2 separate regions of the Homo sapiens genome follow, and region 2 is linked to region 1. Evidence: promoter capture Hi-C in 16 types of primary human blood cells and fetal thymus (Javierre and others, 2016). All regions are on one chromosome and are shown on one strand. Each heading gives the region's core, a stretch centred on a gene start or on the middle of the fragment in contact. The rest is flanking DNA. Distances are from core to core; before and after follow the strand shown.

Region 1 (4,597 bases), core at 1,427-3,926:
GTCACCTAGGCTGGAGTGCAGTGGCACGATCTCAGCTCACTCTCGACCTCCAACTCCCAGTTCAAGTGATTCTCCCGCCTCAGCCTCCCAAAGTGCTGGGATTACAGGCGTGAGCCACCGCACCCAGCCTCTACAGGTCTGTTTCATATTGGATTATAGGGCTCTTGGTTCTGGACTCTGGCCCTAGCCCTTGACCTCAGGTTGGGCTCTGGGTTCTAGTTGGAGCTCTAGGTTATGGCCCGGATCCAAGATTCTAGAGTCTGGTTTGCATTCTGGCCTTTATATTCTAGACTCTGGCCTGAGCTTTGATCTCTAGGTTCTAGACTGACCTGTTTATGGCATAGATATGGCTTATAGGCATTTTGACCTCTTGGCTGGGGTCTGGGTTGTAAGTTCAGATCTAGAATTTAGGAGGGGTCTAGGTTTTATATGGGGCTTCTGATTAGGATCTGCATTCTGGGATTTATTGATTGATTGATTGATATGGAGTTTCGCTCTTGTTGCCTAGCCTGGAGTGCAATGGTGCGATCTTGACTCACTGCAACCTCCGCCTCCCAGGTTCAAGTGATTCTCCTGCCTCAGCCTCCCGAGTGGCTGGGATTACAGGCATGTGCCACCATGCCTGGCTAATTTTGCATTTTTAGTAGAGACAGGGTTTCTCTATGTTGCTCAGGCTGGTCTCGAACTCCTGACCTCAGGTGATCTGCCTGCCTCAGCATCCCAAAGTGCTAGGATTATAGGCATGAGCCACCGCACCCGCCACATTCTGGGATTCAAACACTGGGTTGAAGTCTGCTCATAGCGGAGCTATAGACTAGACTCTGAACTAAACCTTGGGTGTGAAACAGCCTCCAGGTTTTGCCTCTATTCTTAGAGTTGTATGTTCCAGCTGTGAGCAGCGTTCTAGTTCTGGATTTATGGCTAGACTGCAGGTCCTGAACTGGGCTCTGAGTTCTACGTAGTGTCCTGAGTTTCTGAATGTAGACGGGGTCCTGAATTCAGCCACCAATCTGGAATGGGCTAAGCTTGGTCTCGATGTAATGTGTGGCCTCTGGAAGAATCACTGGATCAGATGTTCGGTTCTCAGCAGGTCCATGGGTTCCAAGCTGCCCATCTGCTTTCAGAACCTATGCTGAGTTCGAGATTTATGGAGGAGCCCACATCCCGAGCTGTGTTTTTGTTCCAGGCTCTTCTCTAGACCTCAAACCAGGAGCCAGCCACTACATTGGGTTCTATACAGAGATCCAGGTTCTCAGCTCAGCTCTAGGGCTTTAGACTCTGGAATTCACTAGGTACAGGGACAGGGGAGGGGGTCACTTACGGGCGGCCGCAGTGAGCAGCAGTGATGACCCACTGGCCTGAAAGCAGGGCGCCTCCGCAGAGGAAGCGGCGCCTGGGACCCGCCAGCAGGGCCGCCTGCCACGGCTGGGAGCTCCGGGTGCACGTATGGCCACCAATTATCTTGTTCTCATCCTCTTGGCTCTGTGTCATGGCTAGGAGTGGACAGGATTGGGTGGGGAAAGTAGATGAGCAAACACTCTCCACTCCACAAGTTTGTAGGATTCCAAAACTGACAAATCCCCTTCCTTTTGGTCTAACCCCTAAACTGCCCGCCTCTATCTGTCCCACCCAGGGTGAGACATGCCCAATATTGACCCCGTTATTGCCCCAGCACGGAGAGCTTTCTGACTCACCTCCCAAGTCACCTCCGTAGCATCTCTTATTTTGTGCCGTGGCCACCTTATCCAGGGCCTTGCTACATCTACGACCCTTAGCTCTATGCTCCCATAATTTCTGTGATCACTTCTCGAAATATGCCACATTTCCCCCCAATGAGTCCTTCCCCAACACATTCAAGGACCTCCCTGTCTCCTCCCCAACGTTCCCACTCAGTGGGACCCCAAGGATCCGCCATCTCTTGCCCCACACTTGCCCCCATCCACCTCACACACCCATGCCACGATCCCGCCACCCCATGCCACGATCCCGCCATCCCATCATCCTTCTCCACCTTCCCTCTGACAACAAAACATCTTTCTGACATTGTTTCTTTCCTAACACAGTCAGGTAGAGCCCCGTGATCTTTCTGCTATGACCCACTCAGGACCTAATAGTTCCCTAAGATTCCTTATGTATTTTGCACCAGACCTTATAAACACCTCTCTCCCCGGCCCCACAATTCCCTAGCACCTCCACAACTAGGAATTTAGGCCTCCAGCACGTTCCCCCACCATGACCCCCAAACCACTCCCTGCTCTTTCTTATGAGGTCACCATGAGCATCCAGGGGCCCCAAGGACCCATCCCCATCTCTTCTCAGAGTCTCCAGGGGACCCCCTTGTGTCATACCCAACCGTTCTCTTACCTATAGCCAGGACTTGAAGTGCTGTCAGCAGGAGGAACATTTTAGGGGCTGAGGGCCAGGTCCTGTCAAATGCAGAGAAAAAGTGAGAGAGAAGGAACCTTCAACAGAACCGGGGGCTGAGAGGCAGAGACAGCAAGGGGCACTTACCCAGAGCCCAAGACCCTCAGGGACATGAAGACACAGCAGAGAGGTAGGGACCAGAGACGAGGGGGGCGGGGCCTGCAGGCTCTGCGGGCGGCAGGTGGGAGGATGTGGAGCAGGGCACAGGTCCCTCCTTGATGTCTTGATGAAGGAAGGAGGGGAGGTGTCTCTCTTCCTAGTCACACTGGCAAAGCCTTTTATCCCTGGTAAGGACAGCTGGCCCTGCCCCCACCTCCCGCCGCCCTGCTTCTGACATTTTTTTTTTTTTATTGCCTAGTTCCCATTCCAGGACTCCCTGATCCCATCCCCTCCCTCCCCTGTCTGGCCAAAAAAGCAGCCACAATTGTTCATGAGAACCCGCCCAGGGAAGATGCTATAATCTAGAAGGAATCCTGGGAGGGGACCCCAGGGCAGGGTGGGCAGGGGAGGGTTCCCAGTTGCTGGAGGTGGTGGATCTAGTGGTGGAGTCAGGAAACCAGGGTGGGGAGTGTCAGAGGAAAGGGCACGAAGGGGCTGAGAGAGGGAGGAAGAGATGGACTGAGAGAGGGAGTCACGGGAGGAGGGAGAGAGGGAGAGAGAGAGAGAGAGAGAGAGAGACAGAGAGAGATGGAGAGAGAGAAAGACAGAGAGACACACAGACAGAGAGAGACAGAGACAGGGTGACGGGGGGGAGAGAGAGAGAGAGATGGAGAGAGAGACAGAGAGAGAGCCAGACAGAGAGACACAGAGAGAGAGAGAGAAAGAGAGAGACAGAGACAGAGTGACAGAGAGGGGGAGAGCAAGAGACAGAGAGAGACTGGGAAAATGAATGAGAAGATATGACAGTGGAGAGAGAGGAGTCCAGGAATACGAGCACAGAGGCAGGTGTGCTCATGAGAGAAGGAACTGAGGAGAGAGCTGGAGAAACCGGTGGAAGTTGGATGTGACAGGGAACAGAAGAGGCAGACGGTGGGAAAAAAACAAGACAGAGGAAGAGGGAGACACAGAGACGCAGGGAGAGAGGGGTGTGGAGAAGTGGAGATAGAAAAGCAAAAGACGGAGGGAAGAAGGTGGAGATAGAATGGAAACAGACACACAGAAAGAGAAAACAGTGGAGAGAGAGGAGAGAGGCCGAGACGCCCCCACCATGCGGCACTCACCACAAACACACACAGAACAACAGCGATGATGATGAAGGCAGTGCGGGCATGAGACGTGGAAGAGAACGGGACATGGTGGGAGAAAGAGGATGGGACAGGCAGGCCGATGGCAGAGGGGAGACGGGAAGGATGGGCACCTACAGGGGATGGGGACAATGACAGAGGAGACGGAGGCCTAGATGAGAGATGGCAGCGCCAGGGAGAGATGGAGAGGAGGGGTGGGATAGAGGACGGGCAGGAGGTGGGCGGGAGATACCTGGACCTGGAGCAGAGCTGCCCACCTTGCTTTCTCACTTTCGACTCCTGAGAGATGGGGGAGCAGAGGCCCCAGCAGGGAGCAGGAAGGTTGGTGCCAGAACTGGCATTCCCCAGCTTGGGATCTGCTAGGTGCAGAGACAAAGTGAGAGCTGGAGATGCAAAGAGAGAGTGACAGAGACCCAGAGAGGGGGACAGAGACCCAGAGGGAGAGGGAGAGAGACCCAGAAAGAGAAGGGGACAGAGATTCAGAGACAGAAGGACAGTCTTAACAGACGGGGTTGGAAATTCAAAATAGGAGACGGCAGAGAGCAGGAGAGACAGAGTGAATGAGATGGGGAAGGATTCTGGCCAGCCTGCAGGGGGGTTCTGGAGTTGGGGGGGTTCCATCCTCATTTGGGGGAGGGCCTACCCTCCTCAGCCCCTCCCCTAGCCCCTTAAATTCCCCAGTGCTTGTGTCCGTCTCTGGGCCTGGGCAGCCCCGTACCTGGACCACGTGGTGACTCAGGAGGCTGCTTGCCTCCCTTGGCTACCCCAACTGTTCCCCGGCCTCAGCCTGACTCAGCCTCCCTCCACCTCGGCACCCCCCTAGGCTGGCTCTTTGAGCTGGAGCTTGGCCTGGGTCTGTCTGTACACCTGGGGACGCACTGTCTGGGCACCTGCATCTGGAGCCACACACCCATCTCTCCCCAGGTGCC
Region 2 (4,597 bases), core at 1,375-3,874, 510 kb after region 1:
CCCAGCCCAGGGTTCAGGAAAGACCTTACAGAGCAAAGGACCTCAAATCTACCACATCCAAACGAAATCCCAGATTCCCTGTCCTAAACCTGCTCCTCTCACAATCTTTCTGCCTCCTCCCCACTAACTGTCCATCCAAGTGCTCAAGCCAAAATCTTGGAATGGTCGCCAGTGTTCTGTTTCTCTCATCCGCTTCCCTCCCGCAACCAAATCTTGTGTGAGTCTCATCGTCTCTATCTCCAGAAGAGGCCCAGAATCTAACCACTTCTCTCCACTTCCACTGTCTCCATTCTGCTCCGAGCTACCGTTACTCCTCACCTGCATCACTGCAGGGGCCTCCTCACTGTTCTGTTTCTTCCCTTGCCACACTCCACCCTCTATTCAGGCACAGTGCCAGGAAGCCTGTGGAAATATAAATCAGATCCTGTCACCAGTCACTACCCTGCCCCCCAGCTTAAAATCATCCAGTGGTTCCCATCTCAGAATAAAATCCAAGCTCCTTATCCTGCCAACCTCTAAGCTTCTGGTCCTTTCTGGTCGTCCTCAGTCACAACACACTTTCCAATGGGCTGAACACAGCCAGGCCCTGCCCTTCATGTCCTTTGCATTTGCTATTAACTCAATTTGGAGCATTCTTCCCACCCTGACCCAATATCTGTCTACTCATTTTGTTGGCCTCAGCTCAAAGGCCTCCAGCCACCCTAAAGAACCCCCTCCCTGTTCCCCCCCCCCCAGTCATACCACCAAAGATAATTCCCTCGTATTTGGAAAGCATCTTAGTCATTTACTTCCTTATCCATGGCCTGGTTCCTCCATTAGAACATCAGTGCCCTGACAGCTGCAACCTTTCCTATCTTGCTCACTGCTGTGTCCCAGTACCTAGAGCATGCTGGGTACATAGGCGGCACTCAGTGGGTATTTGTTAAATGAATGAATGAAAGTTTGAGCTGAGACTTGAAGGTAAGAGTTAGGTCTACCACAGTGTTTAGGGAAGTGTCTTGCGCAATGAGATCAGCCTGGCCAAAGATGCAAGGGGTTGAAAAACCAATGGGAAGTTCATCTGGCTGAGGTGAGTAGGTAACTAAAACAGGGATGCAACTGGATCTGATAAGGACCTCAGGAAGTGAACCCCAGTACTAGGTGACTGCAGATTCAGAGGTTGAAAAAGCTGAGTTGTCTTCCATAGAGAAGCTGGGTGAAAGGTGGTGTTGCTTCCGGGAGACGGGGAGCTTGGTTAGGTAAGTTTCTGCCTTGGGGTGTGAGAGCTGGTCAGTTGGGCACTGAGATATGAGAGGCCTAGATGGGATCTTCCGTGGGGCATTTGGAGGGCCAGGCTGGTGGACATTGCGATTCAGAGTCACCCACAAACAGAATGAGAAGAGGGGTGATGGGCAGGATATGAGGACTGTGAAGAGGCCTCCCCAGAAGATATTAAGCAGGAGGCAAAAAACAAGAACAAAGAGGGAGGACTAAATCAAAAGCTGTGGGAGAAAGTATTTCAAAGGGGACTTTGCTCCGCTGTGACAGATGTACCTGACATCACCGCAGTTGAGTCCTGAGGGCTGCTTGATGGCTCAGTGACAGGGAAGAGTGCTTTGGGCAAAGAGAAGAGCCAGTGAAAACAACTAGAGACAAGAGTGTTCCTGGGGGTACTCAAGAGTAGACACCAGTAAGCAAGAAGGAGAGTGGAAGGAGATGAGGACAGAGAAACAAGGAGCCAGAGCCTGTAGGGCCTCGTCGGCCATTAGCAGTTACATTTTGTTTTTTGTTTTTTTGAGACAGAGTCTCGCTCTGTCACCCAGGCTGGAGTGCAATGGCACGATCTCGGCTCACTGCAACCTCCGCCTCCCAGGTTCAAGCAATTCTCTGCCTCAGCCTCCCAAGTAGCTGGGATTACAGGTGCCCACCACCATGCCCAGCTAATTTTTTTGTATTTTTAGTAGAGACAGGGTTTCACCATCTTGGCCAGACTGGTCTTGAACTCCTGACCTTGTGATCCACCCGCTTCGGCTTCCCAAAGTCCTGGGATTACAGGCGTGAGCCACTGTGCCCAGCCAGTAGTTACTAAAGTGAGATGAGATGCAGGGCAGGATCCCACTGGCTGTTATATGAAGGAGTGTGTGTGGAGGAGGCAAGGCAGGGAGCATGGAGACCTGTGAGGAGCCCCCTGCAGCCATCTAGGAGAGAGGCAGACCTGACTAGGGTGCTGCCATGGAGATGGTCAGAAGTGTTTGGCTGTTTTGAAGCTATAGTCAAACAATATGTGTGACTTTTCATTTGAGCACCTGGAGTTTGAAAGGGTCCGGACTTAGCATTGCAATTTGGCTCCACCCACTGGGAGAGTGACAACTGTAGTGATAGAAAGAGCAGTCCAGGGTCCTGGACCCCAAAGCTTCTGGCCTGAGCAGCTGGAAGGGATGGAGCTGCCCTGTACTCCAGGAGAAGCCCGTTAGGTTAGAGGAATCAGGAATTTGGGTTTTGAGATGCTTATTAGACATCTGAGTGGCACTGGTCTTTACTTGCATGTAAGTTAGAGACGGTAAATACACAGTCATATGAAATAATTCCACACATTGTGGTAAATCCTAGAAGCAGCGTGACCTGCTCTGAATGGCAAGGATGTGACGGCAGTAGTGCAGGCTGGAGGTGGTGGTGGCTTGAGGAGGGGGACTAAGCCTGGGGAGTTTTTATGGGTTCACCAGACAAGTGGGACGAAGGAGGTTCGATGGGACAGTTAGAGTCTTGGCTGGGTGGGGAGGGATGAGGTAGGAAAGAGAACAGTTGGGGGCCAAGGATGAGCCAACCCCATCACTGACCCCTCCCCTCCCAACCTCTCTGTGTCTTTCGGGGGCCACAGAAGCTTAGGTGGATTCTGATACCAGAGCGGGGTTAAGTTCAGAACTGGAGGCCTACACACCCTCACCTCAAAAATAGGTGCAACCCCTGCTAGTCTCCCTAGAGGTTGATCTAGCCTGCCTGTGTATGTCCTTGTAAGACACAATCAGGACCCATTCCTGGAGACAGAATGCCCACCCCGACCCCTGAAAGTGAAATCCAATTGGTCTTTTCTGTATAGCCCCCTTCCCTTGAACAGAGCATGACCTCCCTCTGTCCTTAAGAGTCTCTGACCCCTCCCCTCCCAATCTCTCTGAATAGTCAGTAATATCTACCTTCTGATCAGGGCTGTAACATGGGTGGCCTCCTGGAAGTTGTTACAACTGGTCCTTAATAGACGCCCTCACCCCTTTGGACAGGACACGATCTAATTCTGGGTATAACCTGCTTGTTGCTCCCTCTTTTTCCCCCTGAAATCAGCTTAAGTTCCTTCTCTTCTTGGTGCATAATGGGTGCAGTCCAGGAAGCCTTCCTGGAGGCAGTGGCCTTCTTACACCAGAACCCATTTATAACCCACGTATATAAGAGCAGCAGCCACAGCTGCCCCTGGTCTATTCCAGGCAGGGGCACTATCTAGGGAACTCCTCAAAGGCAATGAAACATGTGTAACCCGCCTCCTCTCCCGGTCTAGGAGAAGCTGTCCCTTCTTGCAATGCCCGCCCCGTCATGTGCCTCCTGCCACGTGGCATGCGCCTCCCTCCGCCGTCCATGCTCGGGCCAAGTGCTGTGCGGTTCCTGCTTCTGCACCGCCTTCGAGGCGGAGGTGCAGCACATGGTGCTTGTGGGCTACCTGCTGCCGCCAGGCGCAGTGGTGGCCCTGGGCACCTCGGGCGGCAAGGATTCCACGGTGCTGGCACACGTGCTGCGCACGCTGGCACCGGGCCTGGGCATCTTACTGCAGCTCATGGCTGTAGACAAGGGCATCGGGCGTGGCTTAGCGGGAGGATCCCAGTAAGGAGCTGGGGAAATACGCATGTGCCTATTTAGGGCCGGAGCCTACTGAAGGCTCATGTGGGTAGTACGTGTGGCTCCCTACGATGGAGTAAGGCAGGTTTTTCAAGCCTCTGGGTCTCTGACATCATCTTAGTGAGAGATGAAGCTGGCTGGGCTTCTGGGTCAGGTGGGCACTTGGAGAACTTTTCCGTCCAGCTAAAAGATTGTAAACACACCAATCAGTGCTCTGTGTCTAGCTAAAGGTTTGTAAACGCACCAATCAGCACTCTATAAAACCAGACCAATCAGCACTCTGTAAAACCAGACCAATAAGCACTCTGTAAAATGGACCAATCAGCGCTCTGTAAAATGAACCAATCAGTGCTCTGTAAAATGGACCAATCAGCAGAATGTGGGTGGGGCCAAATAAGGGAATAAAAGCTAGCCACCGAGCCTGCAGCGGCAACTCATTTGGGTCCCCTCCCACGCTGTGGGAGATTTGTGCTTTTGCTCTTCACAATAAATCTTGCTGCAGCTCGCTCTTTGGGTCCGCACTACCTTTATGAGCTGTAACACTGCGAAGGTCTGCGGTTTCACTCCTGAAGTCAGCGAGACCAAGAACCCAGGGGAAGGAACCAATTCTGGACACATTGGTACACACATTGGCAGGTAGAGGGGCTACCTTGTAGGAGCTAAGGCTGGAATACTCTGCTATCATTATTATTATTATTATTATTATTTTGAGATGGAGTCTCACTATGTCACCTAG

What was found. Contacts are between HindIII fragments. The CHiCAGO score rates a contact against its expected background, and 5 or more counts as called.
Region 2: a fragment that was not itself captured here is called in contact with the fragment with the promoter of KLK14 in region 1 in 1 of 17 cell types (fetal thymus); the score reaches 6.7 in fetal thymus.

What each region holds. Positions count from the first base shown.
Region 1 is chr19:51,080,211-51,084,807 of GRCh38, forward strand. It overlaps KLK14 (kallikrein related peptidase 14), which reads right to left and starts at 2,677. Exons shown (of 6, transcript NM_001369775.2): 1 at 2,512-2,677; 2 at 2,365-2,426; 3 at 1,322-1,493. The coding sequence starts at 2,404. The HindIII fragment of the contact is 24,105 bases long and covers 1,024-4,597 here.
Region 2 is chr19:51,594,997-51,599,593 of GRCh38, forward strand. It overlaps the pseudogene LOC339352. Among named protein-coding and RNA genes, the nearest start is that of LINC01530, 2.9 kb to the left of the region's middle. RefSeq lists an enhancer at 2-51 and a silencer at 134-301. The HindIII fragment of the contact is 468 bases long and covers 2,391-2,858 here.